7 separate regions of the Homo sapiens genome follow, and regions 1, 2, 3, 4, 5 and 6 are each linked to region 7. The links are contacts of gene promoters, found by promoter capture Hi-C in blood cells and fetal thymus (Javierre and others, 2016). All regions are on one chromosome and are shown on one strand. Each heading gives the region's core, a stretch centred on a gene start or on the middle of the fragment in contact. The rest is flanking DNA. Distances are from core to core; before and after follow the strand shown.

Region 1 (2,700 bases), core at 132-2,631, 440 kb before region 7:
CTTTGTACATATTACAGAATGAGTAAACTAAGGGCCACACAGCCTGATTTCAAGGATTTTACAGTTAATAGTCAGCTACAACGTAAGTTACAAGCGTTCAGTGTGTATACCAATATTAGATTCTTAGTTGGGACAAATAGACCATAGTAATATAAGATGTGAACATTGGGGGAAACTTGTTGAGGAGTACGTGGGAAATCTCTGTGCAATCTTTGCAAGTTTTCTGTAAATGTTGCCCTCTTCTAAATTTGAAATTGTTTAAAAATACTCAATTTCATAAGAATGACTATGAGGGAGACATTATTTTTGGACCAAGGAAATCAGAAGTGTCTTTGTAGAAGAAAAGAATGATTGAACTGGACCTTAAAGGAAGAATGAGATTATAATAAAGGGAAATGGAAAAGAAGTTTTTTAGATAGGGGAAACATGATACAAGAAACTGTGGAATGTGTGAAAGGACAGGACAGGGACTGATGAATTGGGAGCATGAAAAGGGTTGTGTACAATAGGACCCAAAGGGCAGAGGGCCTTGAAAGCAAATCGCGAAAGGCTTAAATTTTGTAAGTTAGCTAACAGACAAAAATTAAGCTCTGAATTGCTATAGAAATCCCTTGTTTTACAATGAAAAGTAAATATATTAATTACAAAATAGAGGCCGGGTGCGGTGGCTCACGCCTGTAATCCCAGCACTTTGGGAGGCTGAGGCAGGTGGATCACCTGAGGTCAGGAGTTCGAGACCAGCCTGGCCAACATGGTGAAACCCCGTCTCTACTAAAAATACAAAAAAATTAGTCAGGTGTGGTGGAGCATGCCTGTAATCCCAGCTACTAGGGAGACTTAGGCAGGAGAATCGCTTGAATCTGGGAGGCAGAGGTTGCAGTGAGTCGAGATCACACCACTGCACTCCAGCCTGGGCAACAAGAGAAAACTTCTATCTCAAAAAAAAAAGATAAAAATTAATATACTTAAATCATCTCCCCAAATCTCTGTATGTCTACCATAGAGCTAAAGGAATTAAGTCATAATATTTATAGAACACTTACTATATGACCACTACTTTATGTCTATCATCTTATTTAATTATCCTAAGATTCTTGTGAAGCAGTTCTTGTTTTATTTTACAGATAGAAGACTGAGAACTTGTTTATTTCCAATAAGTACAAAAGAGTCATAAATATAAAAAAACAGATATAGCCACCTGAAAACTTGTTTCCAACAAACACAAAGTCATAAACGTCAAAAATAATAAAGGACTTAGTGCTAGGATGTGCTTCAGTGGTTGAAATGGAACTCTGAGTTGGAAATATGTTTACATTTACACTTTGTTTAAATTCATTTTTTAACTGAAAAGATAGTCATCTGGGACTAATATGCATTATTCAAGATATAATGGTATTGATAAGCCCATTAATCAAGTGTGTTTTAGGGAATAATTCTGACAAGTGTGTTTGGCAAGGGTAATTATCACAGAGTACCAAAAACTGATAAAGTCTGGCCTACACAGACTAGACACAGTACAGGAGAACTCTCTCCCAGTTCAGTTAGAAACTCGTGTTTTGTGGAGTCAGAGACAACACAGCTAACTCCGTGGACAATAGAATGGACATCCCAGCTCCAAGCTGTGAATGTTTCCAAATAGTTCAAAGAGAATGAAAAGAGTTTAATCTTCCCATCTTGGGGTTTCCTAGAAGCATTGTGACTTGCCTTCAAAGCCAAGTTACTATGTGTTTGGGAATCAAATGGCTCAATAGTCGCTAATGTCATTTTTCTCCCTACTAAATACTTGGATAAGACACAGTAAGAAGAAAATAGGTTTTGTTTTGGCTGTTAATAATTCTCTAATCATGCAGAAATGAAAAGTTCATCAAAGATCCATAGTTTCTATTGAGAATTTCCTCCTATTGTTTTTTCTAAGAGTTCTCTTCCCCACAATAAACCACAAAACAATTTTTCCTCTCTTTATATTTGTTGAAAGAATTCAATTCTTGAGTGGAAATTTTGTTTTCCTTTAATTCCCAACAAACTGTATCCCATACCTGACAGCCTCAAGGTAGGAAGGCAGCGGAGTTATTCAAAGAAGCATTTTGTTCTTGGTCTTGCCATTCAATATCACAGGGTGTGATGAAAACTGGAACAAATATGGTCATCACAGAGGTGCCAGAACATTACATTTAAAAAATGGAATTATTTGAGTCAATCTGGAATGTCTGGTTCTTTTGGTTTGGGCCTCATGGGTAGCATTGTGCTTCAAAAACAACTTGAATTGGCTACCAGGATTCCAGAAGGGTAACATAATCCTGTACCTTTGAGGAGAGATGCTTATCTTTATGTCTACTCTTAGCAGAAAGAGGCTGGATTCTTCCACCTTTTCATGTTTCAAAATAAAAATTGTTCAAAAAGTTCCAAACCTGAATGGAATTTGGAAACAAGAGTGGGAGGAGGTACTTCCTCAAGTCTTTTGGTTTGTGCTGTTTTCTATTTGAAATAAATGCTCCACCATGAGTCAATATCCTCTAGAGCTACAGAAATGTGGGGTTTGGGGAAGGTTCATCCTCACCACTTCCCCTTATGTGATTTGGAATTTAGAGAAAAGGTCCCAGAAAAGATTAGTAATTCTGAATACAGTGCTCATATCTGCCCAGGAGACAGAGACACTTAAAGGGGCAGGAGCTGGCAATAACTCAACTCCTGGCAAATGCA
Region 2 (2,700 bases), core at 84-2,583, 420 kb before region 7:
TAGCACTGCCCCCTTCTTTCTTGCTCCCGCTCCCACCATGTGAGATGCCTCAATTCCCTTTGCCTTCCACCATGACTGTAAGTTTCCTGAGGCCTCCTCAGAAGCCAAGCAAATGTCAGAATCATGCTTCCTCTATAGCCTGTGGAACTGTGAGTCAATTAAATTTCTTCTCTTTATAAATTATCCAGTCTCAGGTATTTTTTTATAGCACAGCAAGAACTGACTAAAACAGAGATTTTGTCTCAGAAGTGGGGTAGAGCTATAAAGATACCTGAAAATGTGGAAGGGAAGCAGCTTTGAGATTAGGTAACAGGCAGAGTTTGGAAGACTGTAAAAACTTAGAAGAAGACAGGAAGATGAAAAAGTTTGGAACATCCTAGAAACTTGCTAAATGTTTGTGACCAAAATGCTGATAGAAATGTAGACAGTGAAGTCCAGGCTGAGAAGGTCTCAGGTGGAAATGAAAAATGTATTGGGAACTGGAGCAAAAGTCACTTCTATCATATCCTAGCAAAGAACTTGGCTGCATTGTGCTCCTGCCTTAGGGATCTGTGGAACTTTGAACTTGAACATGATGATTTAGGATATCTGGTAGAAGAAATTTCTAAGCAGTAAAGCATTCAAGATGTAGCCTGGCTGCTACTAACAACATATTACGTGAGCAAAAAAAATGACCTAAATTTGGAGCTTATATTTATATTTATATATATTTTTTTTTGAGAAAGAGTCTCACTCTTGCCCAGACTGCAGTGCAGTGGAACAATCTCTGCTCATTGCAACCTCCACCTCCCAGGTTCAAGTGGTTCTCCTGTCTCAGCCTCCTGAGTAGCTGGGATTACAGGTGCCTGCCATCACACCTGGCTAATTTTTGTATTTTTAGTAGAGATGGGGTTTCACCATGTTGGTCAGGCTGACTAACTCAAACTCCTGACCTCAAGTGATACACTCGCCTCGGCCTCCCAAAGTGCTGGGATAACAGGCATGAACCATCACAGTCAGCCTAGAACTTATATTCAAAGGGAAAACAGAGCATAAAACTTTGGGAAATTTGCAGCCTGGCCATGTGGTAGAAAAGAAAAGCCCATTTTCAGGAGAGAAATTCAAGCAGGCTGCAGAAATTTGCATAAGTGAAAAGGAGCCAAGTGCTGATAGCCAAGACAATGGAGAAGAGGCCTCCAAGGCATTTCAGAGATCTTTGTGTGGCAGCCCCTCCCATCACCGGCCCGGAGGCCTAGGAGGACTGAAAGGTTTCATGGGCCAGGCCTGTGGCCATGCTGCCCTGCACAGCCTTGCTGCACTCTAGGCACTTGAGCTCTGCCATGATTTTGTGTTTCCTGAGGCCTTTCAGCCATGCTTCCTGTACAGTCTGTGGAATTGTGAGTCAATTAAACCTCTTTCTTCATAAATACCCAGTCTCAGGTAGTTATTTATAGCAGTGTGAGAACAGACTCATACAGAGGGCTTCCTGATGTAAGTCACATCTAAGATGAGGCTGAAGGCTAGCAGGGAGAATGAGTCTACAATGTTTCACACACAGAAACCAACTGCAGAACAGCTCAGGCTTTGAGAGGAAGGGTCGCAAGAGTCAAGGCTGGAAGGTGGGCAAGAGCAGACAGGAAAAGGGCTTATCAGTGTCTAAAGTTATTGGAATTCTGTTTAGAGTATGTTAGGGAGCAGTGGAAGTTTTTAAGGAGAGTTTATTTGGAAAAATTGCTCTGGTTACATTATGGGGAATGGATTGCAGGAGGAATGAGGTAACGGCGGCCTGTGGGACTGAGAAATATTTAGGAGGTAGGGCTTTGAATCCAGACTGCCTGGGTTCCAATCCTAGCTCCATCGCTTTTAAGCTGTGTGACTTCAGGCAAATTACTCACCTTCTTTTGCTTCAATTTCCTCATCTGTATACTATGAGAGACTCCACCTTTTGGGTTGTTGTGAGGCTGAAATGAGTTAACATATACCTATATAGGACTTTTCATAATGCCTAAAGCATATTAAGCTCTAAGTCTGATTGTTATTTAAATACACAGGATTTAGTGGATGATTAAATAAAGGAGGTGGGGGAGAGAGAAAAGAGTCAAAGATGGTTGATAAGGTTGAATGATAAAGATGCCAGGTAAAGGCACAGGTTAATTTAGTATGAGGAGCCAGTGAGACATCCATGTAGAGATGTCTAGTTCACAGCCAGATGGCCTGACTTTCTTGTTCACCAAGTATCCCTGAAGCCTAGGACATTAAGAGCTAGAGAATGATAATAAAATTCAGTCCCTGCTTTTGAGGAGCTAAATAAGCAGAATGGTAAGGGTTTGACAGAAGAATCCACTGGGTGCACATGGGATGGCTCCTGCCTAAGCTCAGGTCGGCAGGGAAGACCTTCCAGGGGAGAGGTACTGACCTCGGTTGTGAAAGACAAGTAGGAGCTACTCAGCTGATGGGAGCAGGGAGAGGAATGAGGCAGGGGCTATGCTGGGAGAGAGGACAGATATGCAACAGCACAACAGCAGGAGAACAGTGTGGATGGAACAAAGGTTGCAGAGGAGAACAATGGGAGATAGAACAAGGAAAAGGCAGGGGCTGATCTTATAAATGGTGCTTTGGAGTTCAGACTTTACTCCCTCTTCACAACACGGTGTGAAGTTGACTTTTCTTTTTTTCTCACTCACTTTTTCTAGGAAATGCTGGCTTTTAAAAATGTCTCCA
Region 3 (2,700 bases), core at 4-2,503, 510 kb before region 7:
GCTCTATACAATACCAAAAGTCATCACATTTTATATACAAAATTAGTGAGTTTTACTATATGTAATGCCTACCTCAATACAGCTGTTTTTAAAAATTCTATCATTTCATGCATTTAGTTTCCTTAATGAGGTGACTGCTATTTCTAAGTTATTAAAAGGCCATTTAGTATTATAAACAACATAGCTACAGAATTTCCATGCTTTATTATATACTTAAATGTACCTATCCTTGACTTTTTAAAATTGATTTGTAAGGCTTCTTTATAGCACTTTTTAAACATTTTCCTACTTCCTTCACATTCCTAATAAGTGAAATTAAGTGGTTGGTCCTTGCTAAAAGGGACCGTGTTCAAGAAGATGCGTGTGAAACATTAAAATAAGCAATGCTGAATCTGTTTTGAAAGTTGTAAGCTTAACTTACCTATGACATGAGATAGCAGAATTCATCTATATCTTTTCCATTTATTGCAAAATTCTTACCACACATAAAGGTTTTCAATCTTTTTTAGCTGAAAATGTAAGCAAAGAACTTGTCCTTTCTCTTTTGCATTTTTTTAACCATAAAAACATTAAACAGTTCTACTGATACCCATCACAATTTTCCTTAGAATTTTACAAACTTCTGCCCTAGGAAATGGCAGAAAATAATTATTGACTCCCTAAATGCAATGGAACAGGAGATTCCAGGTGCATGGCAAATGCTAACTATAACTGAGGCTGGCGAGGGGAAGAGGGCAAATTACCCTACACCTTCTTATTTTCCCCTTCTTCAATTACATTATTACTTCATTTATTTGACTATTTATTGAATCACTTGCCAAGCACTGTCCTAAGTGTATCTTTGAAAGATACACTTAAGAAAATGAAATGAGGACATGAAATGAAATAAGAAAAAAAAATGAGGACAAATATGATTTGTCCTCAAGGAGTTAATGTCTAGTGAGTTTAAAGAAGAGTAAACAGGAAATCGCCATAAAGTGTGATAAGTGCTAAAGGGTGCTTTGGAAGCTCAAAGGAGAGACATCTAAACCAGACTTCAAGAACGGAATCAGAAAAGGCTCACTGAAGTGCCAACCAAGCTGAGACCTAAAGGAGGAGCCGGAATTAAGCAAGGAGAATTAACAAGAACGGAGAGATGAAGTATTTGCAGTATCCCTGAAGGAAGAAAAGCATGTGCAAAGGCGGATGGTTGGTCAAGAGAGCAGGGTTTAAGAATACTAGTTATCAGCCAAGTGAAAGCACATGAAGGTGGATACGGCAAAGGAGTTGTCTCTTGAGAGACGTAACTGGAAAGCAAAGCATTAACTGCCTCATGTAGGGATCCTAAGTCATCTTAAAGTGCTTGCTCTTTATCCCAGGACAATGCAAATCTAACTACTGTAGGATAAGAAGAAGAGAGGTATTCAAAGATGTAATTCAGTAGAAAAATATGAAAGTAATTTTTTTTTTTTTTTTTTTGAGACAGAGTCTCGCTCTGTCGCCCAGGCTGGAGTGCAGTGGCGCGATCTCGGCTCACTGCAAGCTCCGCCTCCCGGGTTCACGCCATTCTCCTGCCTCAGCCTCTCCAGTAGCTGGGACTACAGGCGCCCGCCACCACGCCCGGCTAATTTTTTGTATTTTTAGTAGAGATGGGGTTTCACCGTGCTAGCCAGGATGGTCTCGATCTTCTGACCTCGTGATCCGCCCACCTCGGCCTCCGAAAGTGCTGGGATTACAGGCGTGAGCCACCACGCCCGGCCGAAAGTAATTTTTAAACCTACTATAAGAATCACTTCATGTATACCAGTCGTGATGGCATACTCTTTATACTAGTCTTTACTAGGCATGTGTGCCTTAGATATTATTTCTGTATTTAATGGTTCATTTTTCCTTAATGTGCTCAGTTTTTAATGTTTGCAGCTGTCAGTTTTGAAACCAGGACTCTCCTTCCAAGTTCTACCAAAATCATATTAGGTAACCACAAAAAGATAACTTGTTTCTTAGTTCAAATTTTTTTTTTGACCAGAAAATCTCTTGAACAAAATGGCTGATTGTTAATAGATTGCATATTCATGATGTTCCTCAAGCTAGATAACAAAGAGACAACTAACAGACTAAAGCTTTGGTAGACAGATTACTAGCATTCTTGATTACATCTGGCTTATCGTTTGTCTTCCAGCCAAAGAGAAGAGAGAGAGAGAGAGGGAGTGTGTGTGTGTGTGTGTGTGTGTGTGTGTGTGTGTGTGTGTTTTAGTCACAAATTTCATTGATATTTACACATGTGAGGTATTATAAAATGTTACTAGTTGGGTTTGTTGGCTTGTTTGTTTTTGAGGCAAAACTGTGTTTTATGAACCAAGATGTTAACTAATCTTCACATAGAATTATTGCAGGTTCAAACCTATAGATTTGTTTTCTAATTTCTAATTCAGTAAAGATTATTTTTGTCTGCTTTTGCTAACTGTTTTGACTTATTTGTTAGACATATTTATTTTCTATGATGCCATTAAATTGAAGGTTGTTATTGTTATAACTGGGGAACAAAAGTGGCAGGTAATTGGAATATCAACCAATATTTGGAAGGTTATATCTTCTAAGGCAAGGAAAAAATGTAAAATGGTATTGCTGAATTTTAGGAAAACCTTAATTATTTTAGAAGTGAGATAGATGATTTTATAATCAACTTAAATAAGGACATGTGAGAAGAACAATTACAATAGT
Region 4 (2,700 bases), core at 155-2,654, 490 kb before region 7:
TGAATACAGAATTATGGGTCAACAGTTCATTTCTTGCATCACTTTAAAGATGTTTGTTCCACCAAATTCTGTTCTGCATGGTTTCTTTTGGAAAATCTTTACTTATTCAAATTGTTGTTTCCTTATAAATAATGCATTATTTTTCTCTACGATTTTTTCATCTTTTGTTCTTGCAAGTTTGATTTGCATGAGTAGGTATAGATTCCTTTGGGTTTACTATGTGTGATGTTGGCTATGCTTCTTGAATCTGTAGGTTTGTGTCTTTCACCAAATTTGGGAGGTTTTTAGACATTATTTCTTAAATTATTTTATCCTCAACACATTCCTTCTTCTCTATTCTAGGACTCTAGTGACATGAATTTTAGACCTTTGGTGTTCTCTGTCACCTCCATTCTGCTACTGAGCCCTTGCAGTGGGTTTTAAATTTTGATTATTGTATTTTTCAGTTCTAAAACTTTTATTTGTATTTATTTTTATGTTGAAGCTTTCTGTCTTCTCATTTATTTCAACAGTGTTTGCCCTTCTTTCAGCTTTTTTACAATAACTGTTTAAAAGTCTGTGTCAAATAATTCCAGTGCCTGTTATCTCAGTATTAGCATCTGTTGATTGTCTTTTCCCGTGCAAGTTAAGATTTGTATGATTCTCTTATGCCAAGTAATTTTTTTTTATTGTATCCTAAACATTTTGAATATTATGAGTCTCTGGGTCTTATTTAAATCCTATGAAAAATGTTATGTTATAGCAGACAACCCATTTGGGTTCAGGCCACAAGTTCTGATCACCCTTCTGTGGGATTTGGTTTCAATCTTAGTCTTGTTCTCAATGCATTTGCATTGCTATTTGTATCTGTCCCATGTATACGCCACCCGCTGTCCAGCGTGGGACCTGGCTGTTAGACTATTTTTTTTTTTTTTTTTTGAGACGGGGTTTTACTCTTGTTGCCCAGGCTGTAGTGCAATGGTGCAATCTTGGCTCACTGCAACCCCCACCTCCCGGGTTCAAGAGACTCTCTTGCCTCAGGCTCCTGAGTAGCTGGAATTATAGGCATGCGCCACCGCATGTGGCTAATTTTGTATTTTTTAGTAGAGACGGGGTTTCTCCATGTTGGTCAGGCTGGTCTCGAACTCCGTACCTCAGATGATCCACCCACCTCATCCTTCCAAAGTGCTGAGATTACAGGCATGAACCACCACGCCAAGCCTAGACTATCTTTTAGTTAAGTTCTCAGAGTCTTTGATATGCAGTTTAGCATTGGATTGACACATGCACTGACTTTATGGATTCCCTTTTCCCTTTACAGTCTCCTCAATACCTTCTATTGTCGTGGGCCTCCCCTTTTCTTCCTCCAGCCAGAACGTTGGATCTTTAGTTACACTGTTCTACCATGCACTTTTTGCAACTGTGCCCTCATTCAGAGCCATGCTGGGATAGAAAAGAAAGGGGGAAAAGCAGCAGGGTTTTATCCCATTCTCTTGGGGCCACAGCTTCTCAGAGTTGTTTATCAATACTACCATTTTTCCAAACCCCTTTGGAGATTCTCACATATGTACTGTTCTGCTTTTCCTCTTTTAAGATTTCTGTATAACTAGTGAGTTGTCTCAAACTGGCTTATGCCAAATTGTCTCATGTAGTAGGCTATCTCATTTCTTTCAGGTTCTGTTAAGATCCTTTTTTAAAAAACAAACATTTAGATGGTACTGAATAATTCTCAGCATGAGCAAATTTTTTTCTTTAAAAAAAGATTTCTTAATAGTTGGCAATGAATTGCTATTAGAGAGAATAATGTATTTCTTGGGAAAAGCACTGTGCCTTGATATGGTTCACCAGAGAGAAGTTGAAAAACAGTACCTTAGGAACATCCTCAAATCACAAAAGGTGATCACCAAACTGCTATCTTGAGATAAGAAGAAAGGGAGGGATTGGTATTGAGAGGTGCAGTGGTTGACATGACCTATCTCCAGGATCTCTTAACAGCCTTCAGTAAAGTTGTGCTCTTGTGGGTGCTGTTTGGTTGGAGACTCAGGATGGCAGAGATTCAAATTATTTTTGCATGGTGTAGGCCAGAGGAAGCTAGAGCACAAGAGGCAAAGGAGGCCTGATGATCATGAGACATGCTGACAATTAGCAGAAATTCTTTGGAGAGATTTAGATTTCTGTGGGGTGTGGAGGGGTACAGAGATCCCCAGCTGACAGATGGTGCATAATAGGCTAGTACCTGATGCTTAAATCAAGCTAATAAAAGGTATTTGGCTCAGTTAATCTGAGAAAAAAAAAAAGCAATACTGGTAGTTCATGGAGTCAAAAGGAGAGTGTATTTTACTCTAAAAGCTTGTTGCTAAATAATCTCTAAGGAAGTCTATCTGTTTTCTATTCACTAGTTATAAAGTACTCCCTCTTGTTCTTCTTGCCAAGAATTTCAACTGAATGATCAACTGCAAGACAAATATTCATTCATCAACTTTTGGAGAGTAATATTTTCACTAGTTACTGTCATTATGCTTTATGTAGCCTTTATCAGAGCTCTAGAGTTTTTATTTGTTTTTTTTTTGTTTTTTTTTTTTTTGTTTTTTTTTTTTTTTTGAGACGGAGTCTCGCTCTATCACCCAGGCTGGAGTGCAGTGGCGGGATCTCGGCTCACTGCAAGCTCCGCCTCCCGGGTTCACGCCATTCTCCTTCCTCAGCCTCCCAAGTAGCTGGGAC
Region 5 (2,700 bases), core at 153-2,652, 460 kb before region 7:
TAAACTGTATTTTGGGTTGGGGGTGAGAAATCCTACCTGAAAAGGAAAGATGACTGGCTTCTAAATGAAATGCAGACAGGAGTCTGGTCCCTCTCTTTTCCACATCTGCTGGGAATTATTTCCTTAAGATTAGATCATGGTGCTAATTCATGTTAAACATCTTCTGGAGGCTTTCTTCACAGCACCAGTCAGAAAGAAGCTGTTCTTGGTCTTTTAGGAAATTATTATTTTCTCATTCTCATGATGCCAAAAATGATAGTCATTGCTAAAGTTATGGCACTTTTTAAAAGTAATCAGGATAATTTTAAAAGCAGGACACTCAAGTGACTTTCCTATTTATTTTCTGAATTTACTCTAGAGATTTATTATGATATTCAAACACTTTAATAAGAATATATTTGAGGCCAGAAGCGGTGGCTCATGCCTGTAATCCCAACACTTTGGGAGACTGAGGCAGAAGGATCACCTGAGGTCAGGAGTTCGAGACCAGCCTGGCCAACATGGTGAAACCCTCTCTCTACTAAAAATACAAAAATGAGCCAGGTGCAGTGGCTCACATCTGTAATCCCAGCACTTTGGGAGGCCAAGATGGGTGGATCACCTGAGGTCAGGAGTTCGAGAACAGCCTGGCCAACATGGAGAGACCCCATCTCTACTAAAAATATAAAATTAGCCGGGCGTGGTGGCACATGCCTGTAATCTCAACTATTCGGGAGGCTGAGGCAGGAGAATGGCTTGAACCCAGGAGGCAGAGGTTGTGGTGAGCTGAGATCATGCCATTGCACTCCAGCCTGGGCAACAAGAACGAAACTCTTGTCTCAAAAAAAAAAAAAAAAAAAAGGAGCCGGGCCTGGTGGCACGCACCTGTAGTCCTAGGTACTCAGGAGGCTGAGGCAGGAGAATCCCTTGAACATGGGAGGCGGAGGTTGCCGCGAGCCAAGATCATGCCACTGCACTCCAGCCTGGGCAACAGAGCGAGAATCTGTTTCAAAAAAAATAAAAATAAATAAATTAATTATTTAATTAATTAAAAAGGCCAGGCACAGTGGCTCATGCCTGTAATCCCAGCACTTTGGGAGGCCGAGGCGGGCGGATCACGAGGTCAGGAGATCCAGACCATCCTGGCTAACGCAGTGAAGCCCCATCTCTACTAAAAATACAAAAAATTAGCCGGGCATGGTGGCAGGCACCTGTAGTCCCAGTTACTCGGGAGACTGAGGCAGGAGAATGGTGTGAACCCGGGAGGTGGAGCTTGCAGTGAGCCGAGATCGCGCCACTGCACTCCAGCCTGGGCGACAGAGCAAGACTCCGTCTCAAAAAAAAAAAAAAAAAGAATATATTTGAAATGAAGCATACCATGTATGGAAAATAAATGACTAAAGTATATGTTGTATGGTTCATTCTCAACAGCTGTGAGTAAACTTACAATTAGAAGGTTTCCTTCTTTTTGTGTGGTGTGTATTATTTTTTAATTTGCAATTTTAAGGAAATATTTTATTTAGAATAAGAGGAATATGACCATTTTATTTCTATTACAAAACTTTGTAACAATACCATATTATTGGCGTAAGTGAATAGACTAATTAAGAATGGGATACTATTTCCCAAGGAACAAAAGAATTCAACAAGTGATTTTTAAATTAATCTGGAAAAGTTATACATGATATTATGTGAGGACTAGATCCATTTCAGAGTGAAATTCCATAATGTCCATCAAACCTACCATGTCCAAAATGTAACTGTCATCTACACTTCCCAGCCCTGCCTCCACCAAACCTGCTTCCTCTGTAATTTTCCCATCTCCATTATGGGCAACGTGATAATTGCATTGCCCATAATGCAATTTCCAGTTACTCAGGCCAAATAGCTTGGATTCCAGTCTTTATCTCACACATTCAGTCTGTTATGATATTCTGTTGACTCCACCTTCAAAATATTTCCAGAATTTTACCATTATTTGCTACTTCCCACTGCTACCACCCTAGTCAAAGGGACCATCAACTGTCATGTGGACTGCTATAATAAACTTTCACCCTTTTTTTCCTATAATTTATTATTAACATAGAAGCCAGTTACACTTTATAAAACAAGTCATGTTGTTATACTTATCTGTTCAAAACCCTTCAATGATTCCCCATTTAATTCACAGTAAAAGCCTAGGTCCTTACAAAGGCCTAAGGCTCTTTGCAGTTACCACCTCTTCCTCTCAGTCTCTCTGACTTTCTCTCTTACTACCTTCTCCATCACTTATTCTGCACCAGCCACACTATCCTTCCTGCTGTTCATCAAGTAAGCTAGGTGTGTTCCATCTCAGGGCCTCTGCAATGGCTGTTCCCTCCACCCAGAATACTGCCCCTAGGATGTCCACATGGCCAACTCCCTCAGTTCCTTCAAGTCTTTACTCAAATGGCACCTTCTCAATGAGGCCTACAATAATCACTCTACTTTAAAATTCCAGCCACCCCTCCCACACGCTCAGTCTCTCAATCTCCCTGTTTAGTTGTATTCAATAGGGCTATTAACTCCCACGTACTTTGCCTTATTTGCTTAATTCTTACAAACAACCCCATGAAGTAGGGACTCTTGCTATCAATTGTATAGATGAGGAAACTGAGCCTTAAAGAGGTTAATTTATTCTTTATCATCCCTCTCCTGCCCTAGAATGACCTCCATGAAGGAAAGGATTTCTGTCAGTTTTGT
Region 6 (2,700 bases), core at 16-2,515, 480 kb before region 7:
GTAGATGAGGCAGTCTGATCCCCTCTTCCCTGGACAACACACACTAGCACTGGTAGTGGGTGAAGTAAACCTCTCTAAACCCTGTAGTTTCTTAATTCCTAAAGAATCTGTGAACAATTATGAAAAGAGAACCCTAAGTTACTTGTAATCAGTAATAGAGAAAAGCCCTAAAATTAAATATTCATAAGGCTTTTCCTAAAAATTACATTTGATAGTTATAAAATATAGAAATAAAAGCATCCAAGTAATATTTTAAAACATACTCTAGAAATCCTAGGAAAATATCAAAAATTTAAAACAAAACAGCCATTTATATTTTAAACAGTAGCCAAAGCAAACCGAGAGTCATAGGAGAAAAACTGGTTTTGATATTTAGTGTTAGTAATGTCATCATTCTTTATATAGCTTGTTTTAATTAACTCATTTGAAATGAATCTAAAGCTTTGTGATTTTTGTGTTGCTTGTGATTTCTTAACATTATAATAAGTGCCAAATGTTTGTTAGCATAGTCAACAATTATCCAGACACTATTTTGTTCTTTGTTTTTCAATAGCTGCAAAAGTACCTGTAAAAGTATTAGTCATATTTAGGCTTCCAAGTTTTCCAGTGAACTAGGAATCTGGCTTCAGCTTGGCAACTAATTCTGAGACCTTTAGTTGCACATTTGTAAAATGGAATACAGGAAGCTAAGTTACTTGCATATTTAAAGAATCCAAGGCTATCTACCAAAAGTTCTGAGAGGTCAGTATTGTGACCAGATACAAAATAAGTACACAAAAAGTCATAGTTGCTCTGAAACAACCACATAATTTTTGAAATTATGAAAACATAATTTTTAAGATTCTAACTCACCAAATATAAATTACCTGGCAATAGCCTTTATAAAGATTTATTAAAATCTTTATGTAAAATTAAGAAAACTGCAACCTATTAAAGGAGTACATTGATATACTATGTTTCTAGAATACTTAATTTTTGACAAAAACCAAATTACCTAAAAATTATTTTATAAACCTAATATAATTCAAATAAAAATACCAGTAGAAGGAGGGAGAGAAACATGCAAACAAATATAGCCACAAAATGTTCTAATAAAAAGAGTAGGGAAACATAATTTCTCACTCCTTAGGTATGGATTACGCATGGTGACTTCCTTTCAAAGTGTACATCATGGAAAGCAAGAAATAAAAGAGTAACTTCAAGCAGAAAAGATAACTGTTAGGTATTGGGCTTAATACATGGATGATGAAATAACATGTACAATAAACCCCCATGACACGTTACCTATGTTACAAACCTTCACATATACCCCCAAACCTAAAATACACGTTTATTTAAAAAGACAGAAAGAAAGAAAGAAAGAAAGAAAGAAAGAAAGAAAGAAAGAAAGAAAGAAAGAAAGAAAGAAAAGAAAGAAAGGAGTAATTTTGCAGTGTAGAAACCTGACAAGCACTACCTCAGTGAAGTGATCAAGGTCAACATTAACAGTCATAAATCATGTTGCTAGTATGTACCCTTGAAACGATGTGATGCTAATGGCATTTTACATCTAAGGCCTTTCTCCCAATAACCCATAAGCCCAGTCTTATCATGAGAAAAATGTTGAATTGCAGCCCTGTGACATCTGACCAGTATTCCTCAAAACTGTCAAGGTGATCAAAAACAGAGAAATTCTGAAAACTTGCCACAGCCAAGAGTAGGCTAAGGAGGCATGACAACTAAATGTAATATGGTATCCTGAATGGGATTCAGGAACAGAAAAAGGATATCAAGTAAAAGCTAAGGATATTGCTCTACTTGGGTTGCTATAAACAAGATCTCACAGACTGGGTAGCTTAAACAACATTTATTTTCTCACAGTTCTGTTGGTTGGAAGTCCAAGATCAAGATGCTAGCAGGATTGGTTTCTGGTGAGGTCTCTTTTCCAGGCTTGCAGACAGCCATCTTCTTGCTGTATCCTCACATGGTCTTTCTTCTGTGCTCATGTGCTCCTCATGTCTCATCATTTTCTTTTTTTTTTTTTTTTTTTGAGATGGAGTCTCGCTCTGTCCCCCAGGCTGGAGTGCAGTGGCACAATCTCCCCTCACTGCAAGCTTCGCCTCCCGGATTCACGCCATTCTCCTGCCTCAGCCTCCCATGTAGCTGGGACTACAGGCGCCAGCCACCATGCCCGGATAATTTTTTTGTATTTTTAGTAGGGACGGGGTTTCACCGTGTTAGCCAGGATGGTCTCAATCTCCTGACCTCGTGATCCGCCCGCCTCGGCCTCCCAAAGTGCTGGGATTACAGGCGTGAGCCACCGTGCCCAGCCTCATCATTTTCTTATAAAGATACAAGTCCTATTGGATTGCTGTCCCACCCTTATGACCTTATTTAATCTTAATTGCCTGCTTAAAGGCCCTATCTTCAAATATGGTCACATAGTATATTTGTATGTATATGTATGAATGTATTCAATGTATGAATTTTGCAGGAACACAATTTGGTCCATAACACTAAAGAAATCTAAATAAATTTTGGACTTTACTTAATAACAACCTATCAGTATTGCTTCATTGAATATAACAAGTGTACCATACTAATGTAAGATGTTAGTAATACACCAGAGTAGTTTGAGGGTACAAGAACTCTCTGTACTATTTGCTCAATTTTGTGTAAATCTGAACTGTTCTAAAAATAGTCTATTAAAAAATACACAAA
Region 7 (2,700 bases), core at 139-2,638:
GTTCCCTCTCAGTGCGCTTTCTCAATCTCTCGCTCACTTTTCCTCTAGTACAGGGAAAGAAAGCATCAAAGACAGGAATTGTAGCACATATTATCAGAAAGAGGCTTCCCAATACCCCATTCCTGCACTCTCACTCTCCCTCCTCAATCCCTGAACTTTGGTCCCATACACCATATATACAGACCTACCCCGATAAACAAGGCTCCGGAGGGTTATGAGTCTAGCACGTCCCAAGTGGCCAAAAGTAAATCAAAAACACACGTTTCCATCTCTTTGATTAGCCTATTAAGAGCTTAACATGTCCTAGAGCATCGGGGCTACAGCTAGCACATTAATGCTACCCTCTGAGCCCAGGCATAAAATATGCACTTGTCTGAAGACTTAACGACACTGACATGAAACTACAAAATGCATAAGACTTTTCTGTAAGAAAACTGGAAATCAATTTAAAACACACACATCATTATTACCTTCCGGATTACTATTTGGTGATCAGTTAAAAGATTACAATAATCATAATCAAGTCCACTTCACAAAACATGTATTGTATATTCATAAAATAAACGTATTTTTTTTGCATCATAAAATAACTGCAAGTCCCAGAATTCTACAACCCCCGACAAGTCTGGAGTTAAAAAGATATCTATTTGTAAAATGAGTTCAGTCAAGCTCACTCATTGCCATTAAAAAAAAAAAAAAAAACACACACACAGAAAAAAAGTTTTCTAAGCGTTATTCGGAAGACAAGCAAAGCACAAGTTGTTGGTTTAAAAAAAAAAAGCTCCATTGAATATTGTTAAGTCTTCCTTACCGTTTTCATCTTCAAATTCTGATAAAAAGTAAGTTTCAGACAATAGAGATTGCACTGGACGACTCACGTACTCCCTCTCCTCTCTAACTTTTTTTAATTTTTTTTATTTTTTTATTTTTTGCCCCCCTTTGCAAAGCCACACCAGCCAGTTATTCTGCAGCCAGAATAAAACCCTATGGTCTGGCTAACCCGGGCTTTAGAGAACTGACTTTCCGATTTGGCAGAATAAGAGATGCCTTCAATACATCTAGGCTATCACTCTGAGATGCTGCCTTTGCAAACCCCCTTTCTCTCCCTCCCCACCCCCCAAAAAAGGAAAGGAAAAGAAAGAAAAGACGGGAAAAAAGACTTATTGGGGGTGGAAGTGGTGCCCTCTCTTCCTGGAAAGCTTAGTGCCTTTGCTATGCAAATAACATGTGCAGAGCATCAAAAGGTATCAGGAGAAAAGAAGACAAGAGGAGCAGGAAGGGCAGCAAAGTTTTGTTGAAGTAGCCCTAGATCTCACTACCGGCCCCCAGCCAACTTGAATTGCAGCAGGAGAAAATTTTGGCAGCTTTTCCTCGGAGGCAGAGCACACTGACGTCAGTCTGCAGATGTGCCTGGGCTGCGTCGGGTGCGCATGTGTCCTGGGTCGTCACGTGGAGGGGGAGGGGAGGTAGAGGTACAATCGGGGTAACCAACTACCAGCCATTCAGAAGGGCTTAGACAATGTCAACTTTTCCACACTGTGAATGAGAGAAATTCTGGCCTCTCTAACCTCTCTGTCCTATCTCATTCCGCCTCTTTTCCTCCTCCTCCTCTAAACTCTCTTAGAAATTCTAGCCTGGTTTGCTATTAGTTGTTTCTTGGAAAAATGAAGGGGGAGGGAGAAGGATGAATGACTTTAGATGGACTAATGTCACTGTTAAGATCTCTGGTGTCATTCTCCGTGTAATTTTATTTTTAAAATCCACACAATCAAAATGTTAAAACTTGCACGCAAACAGTGCCTCTGAGGAAACTTAAAGCTTAGATTCGTGCAGCAGGCACAAGACTCAGTAGCTACAAGTGTACAAAATGCCTGTGTTTTATACATACTTCAGCAAGTAAGGTTAGCACCAAAAGGGAAAGTAAACTAAAGTAAACTAATACCAGCACATTTTCCATTTGATTATCGACTTCAGGTTATGTGGAGCTTTAAAAGAAGAAGAAGAAGAAAAAAAAAAAGTAGGGGAGGAGGGAGCGGGGGAAGGAAGAGAGAAGCTTGCATTATTTCCAGATGAGGGTGAGACTGGATGGTGTTTTAAAGTGCAACCGGGAAAAGCCACAAGTGGAGTGTATTTTTTTAAGTCAGTCCATTGAATGAAACTTCAATGACTGCCCAAATGAAAATAAATCCGAAGTAGGACCCCACCACCAAAAAAAAAAAGGAAGGGAAAAAAACAGGAACCCTGCTGCGATCTCAAGATAAACAAACAAAACCTCAAAACTGGTTCTTCAACCTTCCCAATCCCACCCTCCCTCCCCCCTACACACAAGCTGCCAGTCCAGACTTTAAGGATAAAATACCGCTACAATGTAGCACTTTCACTTTCATTTGCTGAGAATGAAAGCCGCTGGGGAGAAAATGCCCAGTGTTTTCCATGTCCTAAGCAAGCAAACAAAGTCTGGCACATACATCGGAAACAGGAAAAAATGTGAAAATAGCTCAGGACAAATGTTGCCTTTCAACGGTGTAATCTGCTGCATCATTTATCTGTCTCTACCATTGAGTGTAGAATAGGGAGCTGTTTAAGAGTTTCCGAGGTTGGGGGCAGGGGAAAATTGACGCCTTGAAATTCCAGCCCTTAGTTAATGCCAAGTCAATTTCCGATGGTGAGAACCAGAAAGGAGAACTGGACCGGAGGGAA

Evidence for each region. The method cuts DNA at HindIII sites, captures the fragments that hold promoters and counts their contacts. A CHiCAGO score of 5 or more calls a contact.
Region 1: a contact is called between a fragment that was not itself captured here and the fragment with the promoter of ADAMTS6 in region 7, in 16 of 17 cell types (total CD8 T cells, naive CD8 T cells, activated CD4 T cells and 13 more). The highest score is 22.6, in total CD8 T cells.
Region 2: a fragment that was not itself captured here is called in contact with the fragment with the promoter of ADAMTS6 in region 7 in 14 of 17 cell types (total B cells, naive B cells, activated CD4 T cells and 11 more); the score reaches 16.7 in total B cells.
Region 3: a fragment that was not itself captured here is called in contact with the fragment with the promoter of ADAMTS6 in region 7 in 16 of 17 cell types (M0 macrophages, total B cells, M2 macrophages and 13 more); the score reaches 41.3 in M0 macrophages.
Region 4: a fragment that was not itself captured here is called in contact with the fragment with the promoter of ADAMTS6 in region 7 in 10 of 17 cell types (total B cells, M0 macrophages, M1 macrophages and 7 more); the score reaches 9.9 in total B cells.
Region 5: a contact is called between a fragment that was not itself captured here and the fragment with the promoter of ADAMTS6 in region 7, in 14 of 17 cell types (activated CD4 T cells, total B cells, non-activated CD4 T cells and 11 more). The highest score is 14.8, in activated CD4 T cells.
Region 6: a fragment that was not itself captured here is called in contact with the fragment with the promoter of ADAMTS6 in region 7 in 1 of 17 cell types (activated CD4 T cells); the score reaches 7.4 in activated CD4 T cells.

What each region holds. Positions count from the first base shown.
Region 1 is chr5:65,039,181-65,041,880 of GRCh38, forward strand. No RefSeq gene overlaps it. Among named protein-coding and RNA genes, the nearest start is that of CWC27, 270 kb to the left of the region's middle. The HindIII fragment of the contact is 8,098 bases long and covers 1-2,700 here.
Region 2 is chr5:65,058,523-65,061,222 of GRCh38, forward strand. The region is part of intron 1 of LOC107986419 (a long non-coding RNA gene); the gene reads left to right. Among named protein-coding and RNA genes, the nearest start is that of CWC27, 290 kb to the left of the region's middle. The HindIII fragment of the contact is 3,142 bases long and covers 1-2,700 here.
Region 3 is chr5:64,968,773-64,971,472 of GRCh38, forward strand. All of the region lies in intron 11 of CWC27 (CWC27 spliceosome associated cyclophilin), which reads left to right. Among named protein-coding and RNA genes, the nearest start is that of CWC27, 200 kb to the left of the region's middle. The HindIII fragment of the contact is 1,688 bases long and covers 410-2,097 here.
Region 4 is chr5:64,987,703-64,990,402 of GRCh38, forward strand. The region is part of intron 13 of CWC27 (CWC27 spliceosome associated cyclophilin); the gene reads left to right. Among named protein-coding and RNA genes, the nearest start is that of CWC27, 220 kb to the left of the region's middle. The HindIII fragment of the contact is 1,844 bases long and covers 483-2,326 here.
Region 5 is chr5:65,022,990-65,025,689 of GRCh38, forward strand. No RefSeq gene overlaps it. Among named protein-coding and RNA genes, the nearest start is that of CWC27, 260 kb to the left of the region's middle. The HindIII fragment of the contact is 3,595 bases long and covers 1-2,700 here.
Region 6 is chr5:65,005,617-65,008,316 of GRCh38, forward strand. The region is part of intron 13 of CWC27 (CWC27 spliceosome associated cyclophilin); the gene reads left to right. Among named protein-coding and RNA genes, the nearest start is that of CWC27, 240 kb to the left of the region's middle. The HindIII fragment of the contact is 1,652 bases long and covers 440-2,091 here.
Region 7 is chr5:65,480,532-65,483,231 of GRCh38, forward strand. ADAMTS6 (ADAM metallopeptidase with thrombospondin type 1 motif 6) reads right to left here and starts at 1,389. Exons shown (of 25, transcript NM_197941.4): 1 at 812-1,389. RefSeq lists enhancers at 1,142-1,501, 1,269-1,768, 1,542-1,591. The HindIII fragment of the contact is 619 bases long and covers 1,198-1,816 here.